Regions from separate parts of the Homo sapiens genome. Here all the other regions are linked to region 3. The links are contacts of gene promoters, found by promoter capture Hi-C in blood cells and fetal thymus (Javierre and others, 2016). All regions are on one chromosome and are shown on one strand. The core of a region is centred on a gene start or on the middle of the fragment in contact, and the rest is flanking DNA. Distances in the headings are between cores, read along the strand shown.

Region 1 (3,175 bases), core at 624-3,123, 820 kb after region 3:
AGCTATAAAATACAAACATTTATCACTGGAAAACCTAGTAATGAAAGCAAAGCCTATCAAAACTTTATGTTTACAGAATGCGTTTAACTCTTTTTAATATATTCATGTCTATGTAATCCTTTTGTTACTTTTTTCATGAAAACTTATTTAACAGTATATATAGTTCATAGTATTGTGTTGTGGAATGAGCATTAGACTTTGGATATGTCAAATCCTTTCCAGAGAGAGATGGCCTACTCAAATAAGGATAAATAATAAATAGGGGAGAGACACTTTGTAAAACTCTGAGCACAGTGTAGGTGAACCACAGGGCAGTAACCTGAGGCTAGTAACAGTGGAGCTGTCAACAACCTATGACCAAAGGGAAAAGGGAAGAAAAAAGGTTCTCTAGAACTTGAAAGGAGCTAGTTTTGTGTAGAAAGCTACTGTACGTGGAACAGTGATCTTTAGTTGTGGACATAGCCAGCCTAAGTTAACCTTCAAGGAGGGAGCCAAGGGAATAAATATCCCGATCCCCACTCCTCCTTCCCTCCAATTTTGTTAGAGCTCACTGTCTGGAACCTGCTGAGCACCTGGACATGAGGGCCTTTGATAGAGTGCCTGCAGGTCTTATGGGGAAAGAAGAGCGGAAAGCGGATCTGGAGGGAGAAATGAAAGATACCTTGAATACTCTACCACTTTTCTCTCTATCAACCTCCAATCTTGTCCTCCATGTGGTTGACAAATGCATGTTCCTAACACAGGGTATGCACAAAATCCCATCAACTACCATATCATTCCCATGATGTCTTTTACTAATACTGCAACCTGACTAAAATATTGGTCCCCAGCAACACTCTTCATATAAAATATTGGGAGAAGAGGATGCAATTAAGGAACATTAATTATAGCTGCAGCTCACTTCTGGAGCTGGTCATGAGGCCTAAACTGCTCATTATAGGGCCCCCCCATCGACAATACCTTCTGTATTTACCTTACTGTCTGACATCACCTTGACTGGATGAGTCATTTTCCAGTTAGGGCAATTGAAATCTTCATTTCTTTAAGATCTGAGTGCTTGGTAGTCTTGTTTTTATTGGGGGATCGTTGCTATTTTCCCTTGACCAGGACTATCGGGAAGGGAGTACTAAGAGGCATCCCACTGAATTCCCTGAGTTTTAAGCACTGTCCTTGTCTTCATTCTGTAGCAGAAAATCAATTCCCCCTGATCATTAGGTGTGATTACCCTAGCTAGTTATAGTGACTTTCTCATCTCTGTTGGTTCAGGGCCATAAATAAATTTAAATTGCCAGGAGTTAGTCTCTACTTCCAGTGAATCAGAAAATGACCATGTTTCCTGGTATAAGAATTACTGCCTTGGACAGTAGGGCCATCAAACTCATCAAGTCCAAGGTTTCGGGGACAGGAGGCAAGAATTCTTTTTTTTTTTATTATTATACTTAAAGTTTTGGGATACATGTGCAGAACGTGTAGGTTTGTTATATAGGTATACATGTGCCATGGTGATTTGCTGCATCCATCAACCCGTCATCTACATTAGTTATTTCTCCTAATGCTATCCCTCCCCTTGCCCCCCACCCCACTAACAGGCCCCAGTGTGTGATGTTTCCCTCCCTGTGCCCGTAAGTTCTCATTGTTCAACTCTCACTTATGAGTGAGAACATGCGGTGTTTGGTTTTCTGTTCCTGTGTTAATTTGCTGAGAATGAGAATGATGGTTTCCAGCTTGATCCATGTCCCTGCAAAGGACATGAACTCATCCTTTTTTATGTCTGCATAGTATTCCGTGGTGTATACATGCCACATTTTCTTTATCCATTCTATCATTGATGGGCATTTGGGTTGGTTCCAAGTCTTTGCTATTGTAAATAGTGCAGCAGTAAACATACATGTGCATGTGTCTTTATAGTAGAATGATTTATAATCCTTTGGGTATATACCCAGTAATAGGATTGCTGGGTCAAATGGCATTTCTGGTTCTAGATCCTTGAGGAATTGCTACACTGTCTTCCACAATGGTTGAACTAATTTATACTCCCACCAACAGTGTAAAAGTGTTCCTATTTCTCCACAGCCTTGCCAGCATCTGTTGTTTCCTGACATTTTAGTGATCGACATTCTAACTGGCATGAGATGGTATCTTATTGTGGTTTTGATTTGCATTTCGCTAATGATCAGTGGATGATGAGCCTTTTTTCATATGTTTGTTGGCCACATAAATGTCTTCTTTTGAAAAGTGTCTGTTCATATTCTTCACCCACTTTTTGATGGGGCTGTTTGTTTTTTTCTTCTAAATTTGTTTAAGTTCCTTGTAGATTCTGGATATTAGCCCTTTGTCAGATGGATAAGATTGCAAAAATTTTCTCCCATTCTGTAGGTTGCCTGTTCACTCTGATGATAGTTTCTTTTGCTGTGCAGAAGCTCTTTAGTTTAATTAGATCCCATTTGTCAATTTTGGCTTTTGTTGCCATTGCTTTTTGTGTTTTAGTCATGAAGTCTTTGCCCATACCTATGTCTTGAATGGTATTGCCTAGGTTTCCTTCTAGGGTTTCTAGGGTTTTAGGTCTTACATTTAAATCTTCAATCCATCTTGAGTTAATTTTTGTATAAAGTGTAAGGAAGGGGTCCAGTTTCAGTTTTCTGCATATGGCTAGCCAGTTTTCCCAAAACCATTTATTAAATAGGGAATTCTTTCCCCATTGCTTGTTTTTGTCAGGTTTGTTGAAGATCAGATGGCTGTAGATGTGTGGTGTTATTTCTGAGGCCTCTGTTCTATTCTATTGGTCTATATATCTGTTTTGGTACCAGTACTATGCTGTCTTGGTTACTGTAGCCTTGTAGGATAGTTTGAAGTCAGGTAGCGTGATGCCTCCAACTTTGTTCTTTTTGCTTAGGCTTGTCTTGGCTATACAGGCTCTTTTTTGGTTCTATAAGAAATTTAAAGTAGTTTTTTTCTAATTCTTTGAAGAAAGTCAATGGTAGCTTGTTGGAAATAGCATTGAATCTATAAATTTGGACTGTATGGCCATTTTCATGATATTGATTCTTTTTATCCATGAGCATGGAATGTTTTTCATTTGTTTGCGTCCTCTCTTATTTTGTTGAGCAGTGGTTTGTAGTTCTCCTTGAAGAGGTCCTTCACATCCCTTGTAAGTTGTATTCCTAGGTATTTTATT
Region 2 (3,464 bases), core at 393-2,892, 770 kb after region 3:
AATAATACGTAATACAAAAGACAATGTATGTAAAATACTTAGCATTGGGCCTGGCTCAAATTATGTGCTCAATGCATAGTTATTATCATCATAATAGTATGTTACTCGATATAGCTACATTATCCTTAACAAAATTGTCTTCCATTGATGATCTGAACACCCAAGCGTCTGTCAACTAAAAGAAGAAAGCACAGCCATGAAAAGACAGCAAGAATTAATGAAAAAAAAGATCAGTGAGAAATAAGTCAGTCCAGTGCCTTTGATTTCAGTCTTGGTTTCCATGGTGACTCACCTTCAGAGAGGCTTTTACAGTTTACCTCCACTTCCCTTTCTCCAAACACTGGTAGTAAATTCTTGAAAATGTAAACCTTAGGAGTAGAGACTAATAAAATAATTTGAGTACTTCAATGTGCATTGAAATTATTACCTCCCTTCCAGAGGACTTCTGATGCTACATTTAGAAGTTGGCTTTATTTTATTATTTTTGCCCCAGATTGGCATCACCACTGAAATGTGAATGTTTGGGGAACCATATAATACTTCCAGAAATGGATAGAATTGCGGTTTTAAATTGAGATCTACTTCTAAATCTGTATGGACCTCTATATGGGTTTTGCAAGCCGAAGAATCCAGGACCCTCTGCATTTAGCTGAACCCTGTTGGATAGAAAACAGATAAGAGAATGAGCATTATTTTAGTCTAACTGGAAGAAGTGAGAGATGTATCTCTTCAGCGACAGGGAAACAGAAAGTTAGCCCGAACTTCAGCGAACAGTAAAATCAGTACACCGATTCTGAGCTTGGCAAAAGTTCCTGCTTTATATAAATATTCATCATATGTTCTATAAAACATGCAGTCCCTTATGTTAAGAGATGCATGCTATGATGGTACCAGGTAATAGAGTTTGAATGTTAAATCATAATGCTCTACAGTTTTCTTCAGGAGCAGAGTTCCCCAGAACGTAAGTATATTATTCGGTTACTTCACCTACACATTAGCATGAACAGCTAGACACTGGCTCTGTCTCTAGTCTTGGGATGAACGCTGTTTAAGTAAATGTTGTGGGTAGGGCCTTTACTGTGGCAGAGGAAACAGGTCCTGTCCTAGTAAGAATATTTACTAACAATTACGGAGCACTTCTTGTGTTCCAGGCATCCTGCTCAGTTCTTCTTTATACACCATTCTGTTAAACCTCCTGATCCCATGGAGTAAACACTCTTGTTATTCCCTTGAGGAAACTCAACCTTAGGTAGGTTAAGTAACTCACTTTAAATCAGATGACTCATATTGGCAGAGCACATATTCCATTCCAGGGTGACTGGATTCTATAACCGATGCACTTTCCACTATTGCCTCTCATGCTGAAGAGTATCATCCCACAGAAGGACTTATTTTCCAAAAAGCCAAGTGCCTCTTGTGTCATCCAAGTGCCTGAATGTCAAGGTAGAACTAATGCCATTTTCTTGAAGCCACTGGGAACTGTACAATCATTTATTTGAAGCTGGCATATGTTCTCTGCTGATGTTCCCCTCTTGTTTGAGTGAAAAGAGGGAAAAAATGTCTTTTCTTCCCCTTGTTAAAGTTGTACTTGCAATAATCAGGGCCGGCCCTAAAACTCATTATTACTTCCTCTACAAACTAGTTTTTAACCTTGCAAAGTTATTTCCTGACAATTAACATTTGATACTCGAAACAATATTGTGAGAAAATTGGGACATATCAGTTCCCCCAGAAACTGAGATACGAATAAGTCATTTGGTAAAAGTTAGACAAAGTCCCCAGATTTTTCTGGGAGACCAGACATTCCAATTTTGAATCCTCAGTTCTTTTTCCTTGGGCTAACTTTAATCAGATGCTGTATTAGCAAGGCCACGGTGCTCTGACTAACCTGAATATTCCATGATCTTTGTGTTTCATTTACTGTGTATAACTGGACCATAGAAAGGTGCGAATGCCTGTTCTGTTTTCTCACCTCTCAGTCACTATTCAAACCATTGGTTCTGGCTTTTTTCTGTCCCCACCACTTCCCTGAAATTTATACCAAGTCACATGGAACCACCTTATTGTTAGGTTCAGTGGGTGCTTCTCAGGCCTCACCGCTCTGATAATTTTGTTGGTGTTGATTACATCCTACCTGAAACACATTCTTTCCTTGCTTGCAGCTGTTTGTGCCATGTTTTTCTTACTTCTCTGGCTGCTGCTTTTCAATTTTGATTTCCTTTGCTCATTCTTTAAATATTAGTGCTCCTCAGGTTTCCATCTCGAGCCTGTTTTATTTTGATGTCACACACTCTTTCTGTATATCTTCAAGGACTCATATGGCTGTGATTATCTATCTGTAGATGCTTTCTACATGAGTTGGCTTACTTCAGATTTCTCTCTTGAGATTCAGCCTTGCGCACCCAGCTGACAATTGATGTCTAACTCTTTTCTTTTCCCCAACTCAACAGGTCTAAACCTGTCTCAAACAAAACTCATCAACTCCATCTCTTTCTCCATCAAAACCTTTTGGTATTCCTGTTTTGCCCATCTTAGTGATAGGTATTACTATCTGCTCACTGAACTAAGCTGTGAAACTGGATGTTAATATTGACTCCTCACTTTTTCTTTCCCCTTCCCATATCAAATGCACATAAGTCTTGTCATAATAACTTATAAATATCTCTTAGTTAATCTCTTGAAGCTCCAACATCCTCTTTGTGTAATGGGGAAAATTGTACCTACCTTATGGGATTGTAGTAGAGATGAAATCAGATAATATGTCTAGCCACTCTGTCTTTTGCCTGGCATGCTGTAAGTATTCAATACACATACACTCTGTTACTGCTGCCGCCCTCTGCATCCAGTCTTGCCTCACATATCTCTTTCCTCTACATTTCTTCCAGTCTTGAATACATATATATGTATATATATACACATTTTATTATTTTATTAGACTTCAAGTTCTGGGATACATGTGCAGAACATGCAGGTTTGTTACTTAGGTATACGCGTGACATGGTGGTTTACTGCACCCATCAGCCATTATCTACATTAGGTATTTCTCCTAATGCTATACCTCCCCTAGCCCCGCAGCCCCTGACAGACCCCAGTGTGTGATGTTCCCCTCCCTGTGTCCATGTGTTCTCATTGTTCAATTCCCACTTATGAGTGAGAACATGCGGTGTTTGGTTTTCTGTTGCTGTGTTAGTTTGCTGAGGATGATGGTTTCCAGCTTCATCCATGTCTCTAAAAATGACATGAACTCATCCTTTTTTTATGGCTGCATGGTATTCCATGGTGTATATGTGCCACATTTTCTTTATACAATCCATCATTGATGGGCATTTGGGTTGGTTCCAAGTCTTTGCTACTGTGAAAGTGCTGCAATAAACATATGTGTTCATGTGTCTTTAAAGTAGAGTGATTTATAATCCTTTGGGTATATACCCAGTAATGGGACTGCAAACCATCAATTGGTATTT
Region 3 (3,596 bases), core at 13-2,512:
TGAGAGAGAGATATGGGACTTGCTCTAGTCTTACTGACGCCACAGTCTTTGTTCTTATCCCCTGTGACTGTTAGAAATCACTTAGCTCCATGTAACAAAAAACGTGAAAAACACTAAAGTTTATTGTCCTCACATAAGAAGTCCAGAGGAGTTGTTGCCTTGAGGCTGTCATCAGGGCCGCAGGCTCCTTCTCTTGCTGGTCCCTGTCGTTAATGTGTGCCTCTGGCCTCAGATGAACTCACTAAATGGCTGCTCTGTCCCACGGCATCCTATCTTCATTCCAGGCAAAAAGAAAGGGAGGAGCAAAAGCTAAAAGCCTTTCAGAAGGGCTTACTTTTCTATTTAAGAAGGAGGCCCTCCTCAGAAATTCCCACCTGCATTTCATTGGCAACATCTATGCTGCTTGGCCACCCCTAGCAGCAAACAAGGCTATGAAGTAGAGACTTTTGTTTTCCAGCTTTGACAAGTGAAAAAAGGGGAAAGTGAGTTGGATGGGTGCTGAGGAAACCAATTTATACAGTACATGTACAAGTAGCCTACACAATCACTCTGCTCACTGGCACTACAGATAAAGCACATGTTGCTATCCTAACCTAGAGGGCTCATGAGATCTAGTCCTTTCTTTTTGACCTTATATCTCTGTTCTCTTCAGCCAAACTGGGGTTTTTCGCTGTTAACATGTTCCCTTTTAAGCCTCCACCCTGTCATCCAAGTTTCACGTTCTCCCCAACCCCATTCCCAGTGTAGTAAAAGGCTCCTGGCATTCTGCCACTAAATGTGCATTAGTGTTAGAATATTCTGAGCATGAAAAAATAAAAATCACAACTGTATCTCAAACAAAAAGGATTTTTTTTTTTATTTCTCTCCCTTAAAACAATCCAGGCCAAGTGACAGGAAGGCTCCAGAATTTTCAGTGACCTGGGTTCCCTCTATTTTGTTGCTCTGCTATCTTCCACACGCAGTTTCCAGCTCAGCCAATCTCGTCTACCCTGGCACCGCATATAGTAGGCATAAACAAAACAGAGAAGTGGAGAGACTGAAGTGAAGGAAATGATTTCCGCATCCTAAGTAAGCTCTAAGGTGCTTTTCCACTTTTCACCTTCCACTTGGAATTCATAGTTCTACCTGAATTCCACTAGATGGCAGCACATACATTTATAAAGTGTATGGATGGAGCCACTAAACTCTGAAAGCAGGGAAACTACAAATCCCAGCATGCATTATTAAGCGCTTGACTTGCTTCCAGACAAAGGTTGTCTCAAGTTTGTTGCTCAAACCGAGTTCTGGAGAACGCCATCAGCTCGCTGCTTAAAGTAAGATTTCCTAATACTTTTGAAATGAAACTTTAGAACGGAAAGAGGGGAGGTTTAATTTTTAGATGTTGTTTTTTTCTGCACGTTGCCTGTTTCAAAATTAATCTGAGCAGTTAGATCAGTGTAAAGATGGGTTTTTAAAGAGCCTGAAACTCTGTGGTATGTATGTTTTATAAAGTAGCCCAAGAAAAAAGGATTCTTACGGTATCCTAAGTGAAGAGTTTTCTTCCTGGCTCTTGAAAACAATGGCTTCCTGAATATGCTGTTTGTGTCTCTGCTAATCAAAAATCAACATTTTGATTCTAACTTTTGGACTAAGGAAGCCAACATGTATGGTTTTCACATTGGATATATTGAGAGGTGCCTTGTTTTACCATTTCAGGCCGTGTTTGCTCTCATTTTCTCAAAGAAATCTGTTTTAGTTTGAGATTACAGTTTATCAAATGTTAAGGCTTTGACCCCAAAATCTGGTCCCAGAAAGACAGGAAGGCCAGCTAAGAGGAGGTTTTCAGAGTGCATAGAAAGGCTGCTCTGTGCTTCGGCATTTGTTCTGGAAGTGCTTCTTCGGTTGGCAAAGATTCCTAGCAAAACCTTTGACTGGAGGCTTTACAGGGCCATACACCCAATATCACTAATGACAGTGTTGTAAAATAGCTTTTGTGCACCATGCTTAGGATTCAAGGAGGATAAAGTATATCTTTCTAAAGTTATACTTTAGAAACTGTCATTCCATGTTGAAATGATAAACATTCCATGTTTATCTTTTGTGTAAGAAGTAAAAAAGCAAAAATTCATTGCATCAAAGTAGGTCAGGCACTGTTAAAGCCAAGCTTCCCCATCGCCTAAAAAATGTGGACAAACTCAGAGGAAGTCAGTGATTATAAGCTGATCCCTGGAGCCAGTTCTTACATAATTGTGTTAGTCTGCTCCTCCAAGAAGCAGACTCCAAGATAGAATTAAATATGCATGGATTTTATTAGGGGAAATGCTGTTGTGAGAGAGAATGAGGAGAGAACTAGGTAAGGCTGTGAGAGCCATCAGACCTCGATGCAAGTCCACCCGCGAGGGAGGAAAAGAAGGAAACCAGGTTGAGTGGAAGCATCCCAGACAGCTGTGCAGTCTAAGAGAACTTCAGCAAGGTAATAAGGAGCTTCTCTAGCCAGTCATCCGTTGGGGAGGAGGTCTATGTCTCCCAGAAATGAGTCTGCCTTAGTAAGCATGCATGCTCAGGCACTGGCTTGTAACGGCCCCGAGAAGGTGGCCTCAGCACAAACCCAGAGAGGCAGCAGCAGCTGCGCCTCATTGTCCATTACTTCCTGGGGTCAGCGGTCTGCGAGGCACAGGCTCCTGGTGCCACAGTGGGGATTTAGAGAGGCCCGCAGGGCTTTGAGTACCATGAGACAATGCCATGAGATCTTCCCTTGGACCTGCAACAAGAAGGCCTAGGTTTGAATTCATAGCTGCAAAACACTGGGCAAATAACATTTCTTTGAAATTAGCCACGTTGGTGATCAGGTCCTACCTATCTCATCTCTGAAACACTTCTCCAATCCACCTATCTCTCCATCCCTGCTATTTTCTCCAGCCCTGCTATTTCACCAGCGCCCCCACTAGATAACCCTAGCAGCCTCCTAATGGCACCCCATGCTCCTGCCCAGGTATGTTCTCCACAGCAGTCCTTCCAAAATACGAATCTGATCATTTCACACCCTTTCCATAAATCCTTCAGTGGCTGTTGCCTATAGGAGTAACTTGCCCTTCACCATGTGGACCTTGGACCAAGTGTGGAGGTTTGAAATGGAAGAGCATATTGGGTATAAAAAAAAAAAAGTTTGGCTAAAGAGAGAACTGAAATAAGTTCAAAGAGAAAGGACTAGGTAATATAAGCCCTTTAGGCAAGGCTATCAACCTGTACAAAATCAGGCAGATAATGGAACAGAGTGATTGTGTAGGCTAGTTTGCATGTACTGTAAGTTGGTTCATCAACACCATCCAACTCACTTTCTCCTATTCTTCACTTTATCAAAGCTGGAAACAAAAGTCTCAACTTCCAACCTCTTTGCAGCTAGGAGTGGCCAAGTAGCATAGATCTGGTGAATGAACTGCAGGTGGGAATTTCTGAGAAGGTTTCCTTCTTAAATAGAAAGGTGAGACCTCTCTGAAAGCCTTTTGGCTTTTGCTCCTCCCTTTCTTTTTGCCTGAAATGTGGATATGATGCCTTGGACAAAGCAGCCACTTTGTGAGTTCGTATGAGGTCAGAGGCACACATTAATGACAGAGCCC
Region 4 (3,424 bases), core at 507-3,006, 780 kb after region 3:
AATTAACATCAACTTTGAGTTATTGATACCATTCATAGTGTATTAGTCAGCTCAGGCTGCCATAACAAAATACCAAAGCCTAGGTGGCTTAAGCAACAGAAATTTATTTTCTCATAGTTGGAGACTTGAAGTCCAGACCAAGGTGCCAGAATGGTTGCTGTCTGTGAGGGCTCTCTCCTTGGGTCACAGAGAGCATTTTCTCGCTTCCTCATATAGCAGAGAAAGAGCAAGTGAGCAGGCTCTTTGATGTCTCTTTTTATAAGTGCACTAATCCCACTGGACCAGGGCCCCAACTTCATGAACTCATCTAAACTTAATTACCTCTCAAAGGCCCCATCTCCAAATACCATCACACTGGGGATTAGGGCTTCAACATGTGAATCTGGGGAGACATAATTCAGATCATAGTACATAGCTAAGGTCTTATTGGGGTTTAAGCATTGGCTGAAGCATGCAAATAACTTGCCTAAATTACGTTTATTAAAGACAGACTCTTCCATTTGAGTGAATGGATATTTTTCACACTATAATTCTTATGACATTCAGTAGCATTTATTTTATATTTTTCTTAATAATGCAAGTACTGTATATGGAAGAGCTTACAGTTAAAATGTGAGAACAACATTATACCTTTAAAAAATTATTTTTGCAGTTTTTTTCCTAATGTAGATTCTAGTCCTTGTTAATAGTTAATGAATTTCTAAACAGCCCAGCACTATTTTCAAAACTTAATATAGAAAAGTTACCCAACGTCATTGAGAATAATGCATATTTTAATGAAAAACAGTTTGTGCAAAAGACATATTTTAAAACAACTTTTTATATTTATATTTATTGCAGTGTAGAGAAGAGAGGAATTTCTTAGCATGAAACTGTAGGGAGCCAGGTATTTGTCTACAAGAAATGCTATAGAGAGCCATGCCAGTGACACACACAAAATATCCATTCAAACTGAAGAAAAGTAAACTAAGAGGGGGTACTGACAATAAAAAATTGTTTTAAAACCCTTTGTTTGAATGGTGTTGGTGCACCCCTATTTTAAATAAAGTCCTTAGATATGCCCAAACCAATTCTTATTTATTTTCTGCTGTAGGAAAGCTGTTGATTAAGAAGGGATTTTTTTTTTTCTATTTTTCTTGTTTCTAGGTTTAAACTGGTGTGGGCTGTTTTACAACTTTAGGGGCCTTTCAATTTCTGTGGTGGGCTTTTGTATAAAGAGTGCTGTGCATCTAGATGAAATAGTCTGTGTCTCTTTATAGCATCTTTGCTTATGTGCTTTTACACATTATTATCACATTTTTTTTTTGTTTATTCTATTTCAGTGTTTAACTGCTGAAGAGATCTTTTCCCTTCATGGCTTTTCAAATGCTACCCAAATAACCAGCTCCAAATTCTCTGTCATCTGTCCAGCAGTCTTACAGCAATTGAACTTTCACCCATGTGAGGATCGGCCCAAGCACAAAACAAGACCAAGTCATTCAGAAGGTATATTAGAAGCATTTTTTCTCTTTTATTTGAAAAGTCTATGAACCATTGTGAAATGAAGTTAATATGCCTCTTTTTCTGCTTTATTGCTTTTAATTAATCTACATAGAACTTCTTCGAATAATACTTATATTTTGAAAGTATTTGGAATAAGAAGAATTATAACTCATTTAAGCTTCATAAGTTATGCTCTTCTCTTTGTTGAATCAAAATTACATTTAGTACACTTAAAAACTTTATAAAATCCAGTTCTTGATTTTAAACAATATATATTTTATGCTGTGCATATTGGATTGCATTTTCTTTGGCTTATAATTGATCATTTCATTTCCATTATCTTTTGCTTACCATATTATTTTAAAGCTTGTCAGTTTATCTGCAGTTACCAATGAAGAGATAAGAGAACTAGCATGCTTCTAGATTAAATTTTCAGGGACCAAATTATTAGTTTTAATTTTCATAGGTGAAAGAAAATACCAGAGACTATTTTAAGTGACTATAATGGTATTTCCATGAATATGTACTTTAACGGTATGATCTGATGCAAAGAAATTTTAAACCATAATAAAATATATGTATGCTTAATATACAGCTCACATGCTTAAATGTGTAGAAGGGTCACTTTCACCAATGAGATAAACCAATTGTTCAGGGAGTCTGTTTGAAAATTATGTTGGAATTTTAAAGTTTCGTTCATTTGTTCATTAAGCAAATATTTATTGAACGACATACCAAGTATTGTTCTGTGCACTAAGGAGTCAATGGTAAACAAGAAGAATAATTATCTGTCTTTTTAGGGCTTACAGTGTAGTGGAGAAGATTTAAACAAGCAAATTTAAACAAGCAAATAAACAACATAGTTTCAGAGTGAAAGGTGCTATGAAGAAAATAAAATATTAGTAGGTGAGGGATAGAAGGTGATAGTGGGTGAGTGTCATCTTAGATAGATCAAGGAAGCCCTCTCTGATGAGGTATCATCTGAGCAGAAGGAGAGGGCCACAGCAAGGTCGTCTCTAGTGAAGAGCATTCTTGATTGAGGGCACAGCCAACATAGCTTGGCAATGAGCTTGGCATGAGTGAGGAGCAGCAAGAGGCTCCTATGTGTCTGGAGCCTAGTGAGTTGGTGGGGAAGGTAGAAGGATATATGTCCTGGCGGGAGATGGAGACCAGGTGAGGAAGCCTTGCGGGAGGTGGTAAATTGATTGGGTTTTATTCTGAATGTAGTGTGAAGTCACTGTACCATTCTAAACAGGGGAATGCTGTGATCTCATTCAAATCTGTTAAAAGGGCATTCCACCTGCCTACAATCTGAAGAACAGATTGTAATGGGGCAAGAGTAGAAGCAGGGTGATTGGTCAGGAAGCGATTGCCAGGAGCTGATGCCAGGATGATGGGGACTTGGACTAAAGTGGGGGAAGTAGAAGTGGGGAGAAGCAGTAGATTCGGGATGAGTCCTGGAGATCATGCTAAATGGTTTGCCCTGGATTGATTGTGGGAGAGGGAACAATGAGTCAAGTCTTGAGCCAGAGAAACCGGAGAGATCGTTATACCATTTCCCGGGATGGAGAAGACTGGGAAGAGCCCTTTATTGTAGAGGAAGGGAGTGGTGAGGATAAAGAATATAATTTTTGGCGTGGTTGCTTTGAGACATTGACATACACAGGTAGACAGGGAGGTCCAGTAGGCAAAGGCACACAGACATTTGGAGAGGAGATTGCTTTCAGAGGAGAGGTCAAGACTGGGGATTTGCCAGTCTAGAGATGATATTTAAAGACACTGGGGCTAGGCACGGTGACTCATCCCTGTAATCCCAGCACTTTGGGAGGCCAAGGCAGAGGATTGCTTGAGGCCAGGAGTTCAACACCAGCCTGGGAAACATAGTGAGACCCCATCACAACAAAAGTTAAAAGAATTAGCTGACATGGTGGCATGCACCTGT
Region 5 (3,576 bases), core at 113-2,612, 800 kb after region 3:
AACAAAGACATGTTATAGAATACTTAAACTGTATGACTTAGGAATGTCTTTATTATTCATCCAAGCAATTCTGGCTCATTACAGAATACTCAGCTAAGCAATAATATTTAAATTTAGAAGTCTCTGGTGTTTTATCTGTGTTTAGTCATATAAAAATCATAGTTTTACACATATGTTTTTATTTTGTTTTCATGGAAGCATATTTATCACAGTGAAATAATAGAAGATATTAACATTTAACAGTTAGCTTGATTATAACTTTTAAATATTTAGACGAAATGATTTGAGAGTTCCTTAATACCTTTGCTCCAGGCCTACTAAGTGTGAGGCACAACAGTCTATGTGGCATGCGTGTGGGCACGTGCATGCTTTTTGGGGAAAAGTGGGGGTCACAGAGGGGTAAAAAGGAAGATGTAGGAAAAAGAGGGGTGCACAAGATGCTATTTCCCCAGTTATTCAGTTATTGTTACTAGGTAATGTGTCACATGTCACCTTGTGACATGCTTTGTGTTTTTCTCTTCGACGTTCCTGTGTAGCCAAGTGTGGAGTCATTTCACTATCTCTGCAGCCGGGTGGGGCTCCCCAGCCCAGACACAGCCTTGGTGTTTGTTGGATGTTGATTGCTGAGGAATGTTTGGTACTTTGGGGAGGGTGTCAGCTCTTCAAGGCCACTAGAGGGACCCTGGAGCTCGTTCCTCCAGCAATCTGTCATCAGTCTCTCTTTTTATGAAATTTCCTGTGCTTTCATTTAAGAATAGATACTATTAAATATAAAGTGATTTTTAGAAGTTGATTATTGTGAATTTTATGTGTAAAGTTGAGGTGCAATAAAATAGAATTTAGCTGCAAAGTGTGGAGATGTTAGGGAGATTTTCTTTGTTGATGACTGATATGAAGTGACACTCTATGAATAGAATGCTAACATTTTTGAGGTGGTTGGGCCTCCATGAGAGTTTAAATACACATAATTCATTCAACAAGTATTTTTCCAGTACTTAACATATACTTGGCATTATTCTAAGTGCTGGCACATAGGGCACAGTGGAGAGGAGATGAGGACCCAGAGCAGTTTTCAAGAAGTAACAGATGAGGTGAGACAGCAGAGTTCACAGATTCCAAACTTTCCACCCTTCCATAACATAACTGAAATATTACACATTTTGCACAGAAAAATGGAAAGCACTCTTTTTTTTTTTTTAAGTATGAAATACAAAAAAAACTGACTGGAAGTTCTGTGTGTACATATATGCATGGGGCTTGTCTACCAGTCTTTTGGGTGGTGTGTTTTTCTCCATTCTTGCCTGGCGGTGGGAAGAAGGGTAGAATATTACTGGCTATCACTTGGGAAGTGGAGTGGGAGGAGAAGGGGACTGGGGCACTAAGAATATTTGACATAACACCCCTTTCTTTAGTACTGTACTTCCCAACTGTCTTCAGTTTGCTTTGTGTCTTTGAATTGAGGGTCTCTCTAGTTCACTTTCCCCAGGGGTAGATCTCCAGTCATCATTTGGGGTGGCTGCCTTGCCACATTGGCTTGGGAGGAAGGACTTGAGGTTCTACTTGTTCCCTAAATAGACTTGCAGCCACTTCTCTTATGTTTAGTTCCGGTCTTTGCCCTCTGCCTTCAGAAGTACTTGGTGCCTCTAATCCCTGAACTTTTTTGAGGTTCTGGGTCCTGCATCACTTTGCTTCTTGTTGACTTTCTTTGTGAAGTCAGTCAGAACTTGCCTTCCTCTTTCCATCTTCCAAAATACAAATCTCAATGCTGTCATGTTGTCTCTCTTTCCTCCTGTCCTTGCAGTTTTATGTCTTTATTCCTTTATAAGGACATAGCTTCAAGAGGGCATTTCAGGATGGACTAGAGATAAATATGTATATCTGGTCTGCACTATTTCACTAAAAGACCATTTACTATTTTAAATCATATAGTTCTTGAACATCACAAGATTTAAAAACAGAAATTAGTTAATTTCCCCTATAATAACAATTAATTAAAATAGAAAACTATACAAATAATAAAATGACATAAGAAATGATTTCCACTGATCTTGATTGACTGGTACTTACATAAAAACAGTAACTAGAGGCAGATGATATAGCCAATCATGAGGAGAAATTCTGGGTTGTCTTTGCTGTTAGTGGAATTTCTCTCTCACTGGGTCTATCTCAGAGCATCCCTGCCCTGGACAGGTCATTTTATCTGGCTTTACTCTATGTGTTGCTAAGGTCATGAAAATTGGTACCTGAATCCACTGAATTTAGCCTACTTTCACTGATATGAAGTATACTTTTATTCATGAAAAACTGTTCTAAAGTTTTTTTTTTATTACTCCACAAAATTCTTATTTCTTATTTTCTTACTTTAACAAGGAGACTGAGATGATGATTTGGAATGTGTGAACTCTGCTGTCTCACCTCATTACTTCTGTTACTTCTTAAAAAAACTACTCTGGGTCCTCATCTTCTCTCCACTGTCCCCTTTGTGCCAGAACTGGTGTCCTTTCTCCTTTTTAAGGCCAGTTCCTCTAAATATTCTCATCTTTCCTGTGGCCTCTTCCAGTTTTGTTTTGTTTTGTTGTTTTAGGACAGGGTCTCACTCCATAACCCAGGCTGGAGTGCAGGGCTTAATCAGAGCTCACTGAAATCTCAAACTCCTTAGCCTCAAGGGATCCTCCCACCTCAGCCTCCCAAGTAGCTGAGACTGCAGGCACATGCCACCATGCCTGGCTAACTAAATTTTTTTTGTGTAGAAATGGGGTCTTGCTATGTTGCCCAGGCTGATCTTGAACTCCAGGTCTCAAGTGATCTTACTGCCTTAGCCTCCCAAAGTATTGGGATTACAGGTGTGAGCCACCACATCTGGCCTGTTTTCATTTATCTTTCCTGAATCTCTCCTTTTCCCGTGTCTACAAACAAGTTCCATCTTTTCTACCTCAAGGTGTTATTTTTTTCCTCAATCTGCTACTCCCAAGTTTTCTCAAACCTTCTTTCCCACAACTGTCCAACTTTTCTAAAGATTGGCTAATTCTGAAATAAGACTATATATGTTAGACATATTCTTAAATGCTTTACATATATTAACTCGTTTAATCTTCACAGTAACAACCCTGTGAGGCAAGTACGATTATTATTTCCATCTTGCAGATTTGGAAACTGATGTACAGAGAAGGTAAGGAACTTACCCAAGGTCACACAGGTACCACATTAGGATTGAAGTGCAGGAATCCTGTTTCCTGGTCTGTTTGGTTAACTTACCTTACACTACGCTGCCTATTGTTTCCATTTGTTAACCAGCCTTCCTCATCATCTCCGTACATGCTTAATCATGTACAGTTTCTAAACTCACTACCTATTCTCTGAACATTTTTAGAATAATGTAAGTGGTTGTTCTAGGCAGCATGTGATATTCCTCTTTTTAAAATTAAATTAAATTATTCATTTTTTTTGAGACAGGGTCATTGTAACCTCAGACACCTGGGCTCAAGCAATGCTCCCACTCCGCCTTCAGAGTAATTAGGACTACAGGCGTGGGCCACAAGCTATGTTCCTAATCCTCATTCACTCTTTCTTCCTGAG
Region 6 (3,657 bases), core at 719-3,218, 840 kb after region 3:
CATCTGTCAGACAGACAGCATTAAGCAACATTTTGACAGTATCTGTCAAGTATGAACTTTTTTATCCCCTTTTCTTTCCTTCATCTGAGCACTTAACCCTGGAAGGGCCAAAAGCCAATTAGTGAACAGTGGGGAGTAAGGAAATAAAAGAGAAGGATTCCTTCCCAGAAGTCTTACCTTTGAATACAAATTGAATTACTGATTGATGCATTGGATTGGACATTTTCAATAACTGACTTGAGACTATGTTTGTGTCTTGAAGTAATTGTAGGATTTTATATTCCCTCCAAAGTCCTGTGTGAGAACAGCCATTGTGCCACCCCAAGTTTCATCCAGGGGTAGGAGAAGGGCTAGCCAGTCCTTCACTCCCAAGCAGACAGTGAGGAATAAAATTAAAAGTTGTTTTTAGTTACCCCTGTGAGAACTGCATGTTAATATACTGATTATATCTGCCCTTTAAAAATTAGTACTTACACACACCTGTAGTCCCAGCTACTCGGGAGGCTGAGGCAGGAGAATGGTGTTAATCAGGGAGGCGGAGCTTGCAGTGAGCCGAGATCGCGCCACTGCACTCCAGCCTGGGTGACAAAGCAAGACTCCGTCTCAAAAAAAAAAACAAAAAACAAAAAACACTTACTTACAACAAACCTGTGTAATGGGTTCTATTTTTAATGCTAGGCCAGGCTGCAGCTGAGAAGTTGCAAAGGAACCCCATGCTCAGGGATGCAGCCAGGGAAGAGCATGACAAAAGCCCTCCCACCCACACTGCTGACCTCTTGCAGCAGCTGCAAACAGCAGGAGAGCCCTTTCCTGTTGCAGTATCCCTCCAGCGCCCTCTACTGAGACAGCTCAATATCATGCTCACTGTAAAGGATGGGTGCTAAAGGAATTCTGTTCATTATGACAGAGCATGTATTTAGAGTGAATTTGGAGTTCAGTGTTAGTAAGTTGGTAAGTGGCACAGGGAGACATTACTCCGTGACTAAATGACATCACTCTGTGGTGATGGGACTTCGTGCATTTGCAATGTTGGGGACATAGACTTTTCAACTGTACAGGATGGGGATCCACTCTCCACCCTTCTGTATCCTGCTTTTTGCCTCCAGAGACTGACCCACATGGACCTCAGTGGGTATAGCCAAATGGAGAACTTCGACAAGAGACTGGAGGAAGTGAAGAGAGGAAGGATAGAGTATCAATTTCCTTGACTATCCTCCTACTGGGTATCCTTGGGCTGCCTGTTTTGCCCAAGAAGGCCTTCTCTACAGAAAAGCTTCTTACAATATCTGTGGCTAAGGCCCAGCTTGTTTTCCTTATTTCCAATTTATCAATAGCTGGCACTTCTGTAAATAGATAGAATTCAAAGAAATTACTAGAAAAATGAAATACAATTAAAAATAAATAAATAAATTAGCTGGGGGTGGTGGCGGACACCTGTAATCCCAGTTATTCAGGAGGCTGAGGCAGGAGAATTGAACCCGGGAGGCAGAGGTTGCAGTGAGCCGAGATAATGCCACTGCACTCTAGCATGGGTAACAGAGCAAGACTCCATCTTGGAAAAAAAAAAAAAGACATAGAAAATCCAACCCCATTTTTATTATTAGATAAACCTCATTTTTTATTAGACACAATTATTCTTTGGGATTACTGTTGAAGTTTATAAATGCTTATTCTCAATTTCCGTACCTAGTTCATCTAAAAAACTGTTGCTGGGCCAGCACCTGCCTGTAGATTCCCCTCCTTTGGTTTTGGTGCCCACTATCTCTCTGTCCCTTTGGCCTAGGGGTAGTAACAGCTCTACTGTCTTCAGCCCTGCGTTCATGTAGCATCACCTGTGGTTTCCCTGCACCCCACTTGCATGTTTGTAATCAGTCCCTTTGTAAATTAATGGACCTGCCTCACCTTACCCTCATTTGAGCATGGCAGTTCTTTGTTTCCCCTGTGGCTGTGATTATCAGCAGTAAACGTCTTATCCTGGAAGAGGAGGTGACTGTGTGAATTTGGCAGGAGAAGGAATACACAACAAGTGCGTATATGGGAGTGAAGTTGCTGCTCACTGAAAGCAAGGAGAAAATTTATGGGGATGAAAGATGATAAGCCATTATCATTAAACATTTTAGGGTAACAAGATGGCATTAGGTTAGATTAATTTGTATGATTAACTATGCATACAGAGAAAAATATCTAGGATGTTTTGAGAGACTAGTTATAAGTGGACTTATCACATTTCTGGCAGATAAGAATCTTTTGACTAGATAAAAGACTGTAACCAACTGTCCAACAACACGTCCTTAAGCATGAATCATCACGTATTTTTAAATAAAGACATAGATTTCTAGATAGGGAAGAATGAATATATTTTTATGATTGTTTATTGAACAGTTTATGCCTTATGGGAATCCTTCTCGTGTAGATGTATCTATAGGTCACATTCCCTCACTTAAAGCATACTATGAAGTGCTACGTGGAATATCTGAGTGAGAACACCGGGACTGCTGCTTGTGACTGTATTGCTGAGACGTTCCACCCATTCACAGCAATGCTTATAAATAGACAATGTTTTTTCTTTGGGAGTCATTGTATGTGCTAACCTTAATGGTGTTACTCTAATAATTATGTACGAGCTTGTTAATGAACTGGGAAACATTGATTTTAGAAGCTTAGAAACTGTGGAGGAAGGTGCTTCATATGGATCTTTCTACTTTTTGTATCTTTTGTGTTTCCATGAAAAAATCTTTTAATTTGTGAAAAGTAAGCCTCAGAATTCATGTCTAAGCATTTCGTAGAAGGATGCACGTGAGAAAAAGCACCTGCGCTGTCATAGCGATCCTTTGGTGTTTTAAGATGAAAAAGTTCAAAGCATTTTAGAATAGTCATAAAGATGACATTGTATAAGTTAGGAGCTGGGTTGTCCTGTCACTTTGTGGTGACAAAACTGGTGAAAGTGGTATTAAAATCATTGCTGGATATGTTTGGAGTAATGCACTTCTGTTGATTGTTTCTGCATACCTTGACTTCTGCCCTTGTCCATGTAAAAGCTTCACTCTTCCTTTTAGAAACTGGTTTCTCCCAACCCCTACTGGAGATTGTCAACCAATGCACTTAACCTCACCCATTTGCCACAAGCTGGGCAAGTCACCCAGTCTGGGTCAATTGTAATCTTTACACAGAAACTTCTAAGGATGTGGAGAGCCAAAACTCTTGCCTCTTGTATTTGACCCCAGAGCTTCTGGTGGTCATGTTCCTGGCACAAGGAGAAACCCGGGAAAATGAGATGGATGCTGAGAAAACAGTAGAAGCTATGGGGACTGATTGGAGAGAGTTGTGTTGTCTTTGGTTCTAGTTCCTGACATCCTTAGTACTTTTCAGTTATTTTTCTTTAGTTCCTTCAATTTTGTAAGTTACCCAAGTTATTCTAGTATCTCAGTATGTCCTTTTTGGCTTTAACTAATTTGATTTGGGTTTCTGTTTCTTGCAATACAATTTTTCTAATTAATACAGCAGTTAAATATTGAGATATTTATTTCAAACAAAATTCCCAGCTCTTGAATTTAGCAAAGTTCCTCAGCACTTTCTGGAACTTCACTATCAATGTCAGGAGTCAACTTCCTAGGCAGAGTATAGTAAAATCTCTATTATGTTCCAGTAGTGGTGAGC
Region 7 (3,160 bases), core at 604-3,103, 740 kb after region 3:
CTAATTATATTCTTCTAGTTATTTTTAAATGTACAATTAAATTATTATTGACGATAGTCACCCTGTTGTGCTGTCAGATACTAGGACTTATTCATTAATTTTAATTATTTTTTTGTACCTATTAACCATCCCCTCCCCTTCTCCTCCCCACCACCCGGCAACCTGTTTTGTTCATCGATGATTCTTCAGTACACAGAAGAGTGTCTACTAGGCACCCCAAAAATATCTGTTGAATAAGTGAAGGAATTGTATTTTTGAAATTTGCATGATCTCGTTAGCTATTCTTTGGAATCAAACCAAAGTTTACTTGTAGTAAAAGTTATTGCCTGTTAAATTGAGAATCAAAATAATCATGCAGTCTTACAGTGTTTTTAAGGAACTGATTTCTATAGTGGCTTTCTCATATAGTTAGTGATGGCAATGTTTTTACCAGCTCATCATTAGCATGTTCTGCAACTTGAGGGTTTTTCAGTGATGGGGTAATATTGTTCCTGCCCTGCCCCTTCTCTTGAGAATAATGGCACACGGTTGCTAAGAGGCTGGTAGGGATTAAGCATTCTCTTGAGCAAAACAACACTGGTTTGTGCTGGAAATAACTTTAACTTGGTGGTAGCAATGCGCTGCTGACAGGGTCCCAGCTAGAACATGCATTCTTCACCATCTTGAGGCTTCCTTGATGAGAACCACTCACTGAGAGCAGTTTGTAAGGTTCATCAAGGCTGTGCCTTGCCCTCCATGTATTTCCTGTAGATTTCCTGGGAAACCAACCTCTTCACTTCAGCTGACCTGAAATCCCCACAGGTCCGCTCAAATGCTGTATTTGTTTGCATCCAACAAAGTGGAAGTATAGGGAGTGTCAGTAATAACATACTGTTTACATGGGTGATAGCTGGGAAGAGAAATTCACCAGGAAATCCTGGTGAGACTCTTACATTCACCAAGGTGTGTGGCAGTGGGCAGACTCAGGAGTCTTCAGATTTCAGAGCAAGGACCTGCAGCATAAGCAGGAAGAGGAGAAAGGGTGTTGTCAGGGTGAGAGATTATGGAGTCAAAGGCCTGGAACAGATGTTATGTACTTTTAAGTCTTAGTGAAGGCTAGCTCTGTTCAACACCTTGCAGTTCTATTGGGCGAGTTCATAAATTAAAGCCATCTCCATAAAATGCCATTCCAGACTAACATATGGGATTGACTTAATTTTTCCATTTAAAAATGCCTGCTTTATAGTATAAGCTTTAAAATTGCTTTCTAAGTAATGCATTTAAAAAAATCCGAGTAGGCGTGTATCCATGGTTATGGCAATGATGATAGCAAAGATTTCTGAAGATAGGGTTTTTGTCCTAGATTTTTATAGGGTTTCTATTTATCCACCTTGCTTCTGTTTTCCTTCAGCTCTTTTTATATGATTTGAAAATTTGTTTGCCAGTTTTTTTGTTGTTAAAAAATTTAACATTATTTAACATTTTTATTTTACTCATTAATTCATTTATTCTATCAGTATTTATTGAATACCTAAAATATGTGGAGCATTTTAGACACAATGAGAAATAGAAAACTTCAAATACTCTAATTGAATAGATGACATAAACAAATCTAGACAGGTAATTAAAATACAGTGTAATGTTTTAAGAACACATAGGAGGGGCACTTAACCAAAAATTAACATGAGAAGATTTTCAAGAGTAAATGCGGTCTAAACTAGAAGTAGTAAGAAGCTGGAAGTGGAGATGAGGAATGAAGAAGTGCATCTCAAGAGAAAGAGGCAGCATGTGCAAAGGTCCTGAGGTGACAGACCACATGGCTGGTCAGAGACCTGAGAGTAGCTCAGTGTGATTAGTGTATGAAGTAAGAAGTAGGAATGGTGAGAGATGTGACTGTGGAGGAAAACTAGGTCTTTATTAGGACAAACCTCAAAAATCATATTAAGGAACTCATATTAAAGACAATGGGAAATAATTGAAGGTTACTGTGAGTGAGTAGGATTAGATAGTCCATTTAGAAAGCACACATTGACTTCCCCATGGAAAATAACTTGGTAAGGGACAATTTGCAAGGCAGGGAGACAGAAGACAGCAAATTATCCAGTTAAGAGTTGATGATAGCCTATCTTAAGATAAAGGCAGTGGACTTAAAGAGAGTAGATCAATTTGAAAACCATAGTAGAATTACTATGGCTTGATAATTGATGGCCAGAGAGGGTATATAAAGGAGAAAGATAAGGGAATGATATTGACTCTCTTAGTGTGGTTTCTCCCTAAAAGCAAGTCTGTGTCAATAACTGGGATGCAGGAAGTTTATTTTAGAGATGATCCCAAGAAATAAGAGTGACAGAATGAGGAGAGTGTGTTAGGGAAGGAGAAAATCTAATTCAGGGAAGGAAGAAAGCCAGTAAAGGGTGCATTATTGAACTATTTATTGCTGTAAAACCCTGGGGCACATATTGTAGGAATTCCCTGAGAAACCATGTTGAAAGCTTTTCAGAAGTGACCCTTTGAAAGACTGAAGACTGAGCCTTTCTTCTCTGACTCTCATTTCTCTTTGGTTTAGGGTTGCCTCCAGGGATGTTAACTCCTCTATGCTTGAAAGCTGCTGAGCAGGTTATTAGAATTCTAAAGAAAACCTGAGGTAAAAAATATGAGAGAATGACTTGAAGTGAAACTACAATTAGAGGTGGGCTAAGAGGATATGATGTGGGGTACAAGTAGGGTCTAATACAGTGACCATGTTTCTGGCACAGGTAACTGGATGAGCCAACATACATTGAATTCTTGAAATATTTTTGAGACATCCATGTGGTGACATCCAGTAGGTAGAGGGATACAGTCTGGCATTCAGAGCTGGCACCACAGTAATGAGTTTAGGAGCCACAGTCTAATCAGAGGGAGTGTATTAGTTTTCCAGGGCTGCCCTAACAAAATACCACAGGCTGGATGGCTTAAAAAACAGAAACATATTGCCTTCCAGTTCTGGAGGCTGCTGACAGGATTGATTTCTTCTCAGGTCTCTCCCTGGCTTGTGGATGGCCATCTTCTCCCTCTGTCTTTACATAGTCTTTCCTCTGTGTCTGTGTCTGAATTTCACCTTTTTATAAGAATGCCAATCATACTGTATTAGGGCCCACCCATGTGACTTCATTTTACCTTAATTACCTCTTTAAAGGCC

What was found. Contacts are between HindIII fragments. The CHiCAGO score rates a contact against its expected background, and 5 or more counts as called.
Region 1: a fragment that was not itself captured here is called in contact with the fragment with the promoter of BDH2 in region 3 in 4 of 17 cell types (naive CD8 T cells, M2 macrophages, total CD4 T cells and 1 more); the score reaches 6.0 in naive CD8 T cells.
Region 2: a fragment that was not itself captured here is called in contact with the fragment with the promoter of BDH2 in region 3 in 1 of 17 cell types (fetal thymus); the score reaches 5.3 in fetal thymus.
Region 4: a contact is called between a fragment that was not itself captured here and the fragment with the promoter of BDH2 in region 3, in 4 of 17 cell types (total CD4 T cells, activated CD4 T cells, total CD8 T cells and 1 more). The highest score is 6.3, in total CD4 T cells.
Region 5: a contact is called between a fragment that was not itself captured here and the fragment with the promoter of BDH2 in region 3, in 1 of 17 cell types (total CD4 T cells). The highest score is 5.8, in total CD4 T cells.
Region 6: a fragment that was not itself captured here is called in contact with the fragment with the promoter of BDH2 in region 3 in 7 of 17 cell types (M2 macrophages, non-activated CD4 T cells, naive CD8 T cells and 4 more); the score reaches 11.1 in M2 macrophages.
Region 7: a contact is called between a fragment that was not itself captured here and the fragment with the promoter of BDH2 in region 3, in 4 of 17 cell types (fetal thymus, naive CD8 T cells, total CD4 T cells and 1 more). The highest score is 8.1, in fetal thymus.

Annotation. Positions count from the first base shown.
Region 1 is chr4:102,277,403-102,280,577 of GRCh38, reverse strand. The region is part of intron 6 of SLC39A8 (solute carrier family 39 member 8); the gene reads left to right. Among named protein-coding and RNA genes, the nearest start is that of SLC39A8, 66 kb to the left of the region's middle. The HindIII fragment of the contact is 3,854 bases long and covers 1-3,175 here.
Region 2 is chr4:102,332,631-102,336,094 of GRCh38, reverse strand. The region is part of intron 2 of SLC39A8 (solute carrier family 39 member 8); the gene reads left to right. Among named protein-coding and RNA genes, the nearest start is that of SLC39A8, 11 kb to the left of the region's middle. The HindIII fragment of the contact is 3,813 bases long and covers 1-3,464 here.
Region 3 is chr4:103,097,500-103,101,095 of GRCh38, reverse strand. BDH2 (3-hydroxybutyrate dehydrogenase 2) reads left to right here and starts at 1,262. Exons shown (of 10, transcript NM_020139.4): 1 at 1,262-1,313. The HindIII fragment of the contact is 3,413 bases long and covers 1-2,145 here.
Region 4 is chr4:102,313,729-102,317,152 of GRCh38, reverse strand. SLC39A8 (solute carrier family 39 member 8) reads left to right here. Exons shown (of 9, transcript NM_001135146.2): 3 at 1,323-1,485. Among named protein-coding and RNA genes, the nearest start is that of SLC39A8, 30 kb to the left of the region's middle. The HindIII fragment of the contact is 188 bases long and covers 1,663-1,850 here.
Region 5 is chr4:102,296,924-102,300,499 of GRCh38, reverse strand. All of the region lies in intron 6 of SLC39A8 (solute carrier family 39 member 8), which reads left to right. Among named protein-coding and RNA genes, the nearest start is that of SLC39A8, 47 kb to the left of the region's middle. The HindIII fragment of the contact is 6,511 bases long and covers 1-3,576 here.
Region 6 is chr4:102,255,071-102,258,727 of GRCh38, reverse strand. It overlaps a transcript of SLC39A8 not described here. Among named protein-coding and RNA genes, the nearest start is that of SLC39A8, 89 kb to the left of the region's middle. The HindIII fragment of the contact is 1,386 bases long and covers 1,276-2,661 here.
Region 7 is chr4:102,361,028-102,364,187 of GRCh38, reverse strand. No RefSeq gene overlaps it. Among named protein-coding and RNA genes, the nearest start is that of SLC39A8, 17 kb to the right of the region's middle. The HindIII fragment of the contact is 1,240 bases long and covers 1,234-2,473 here.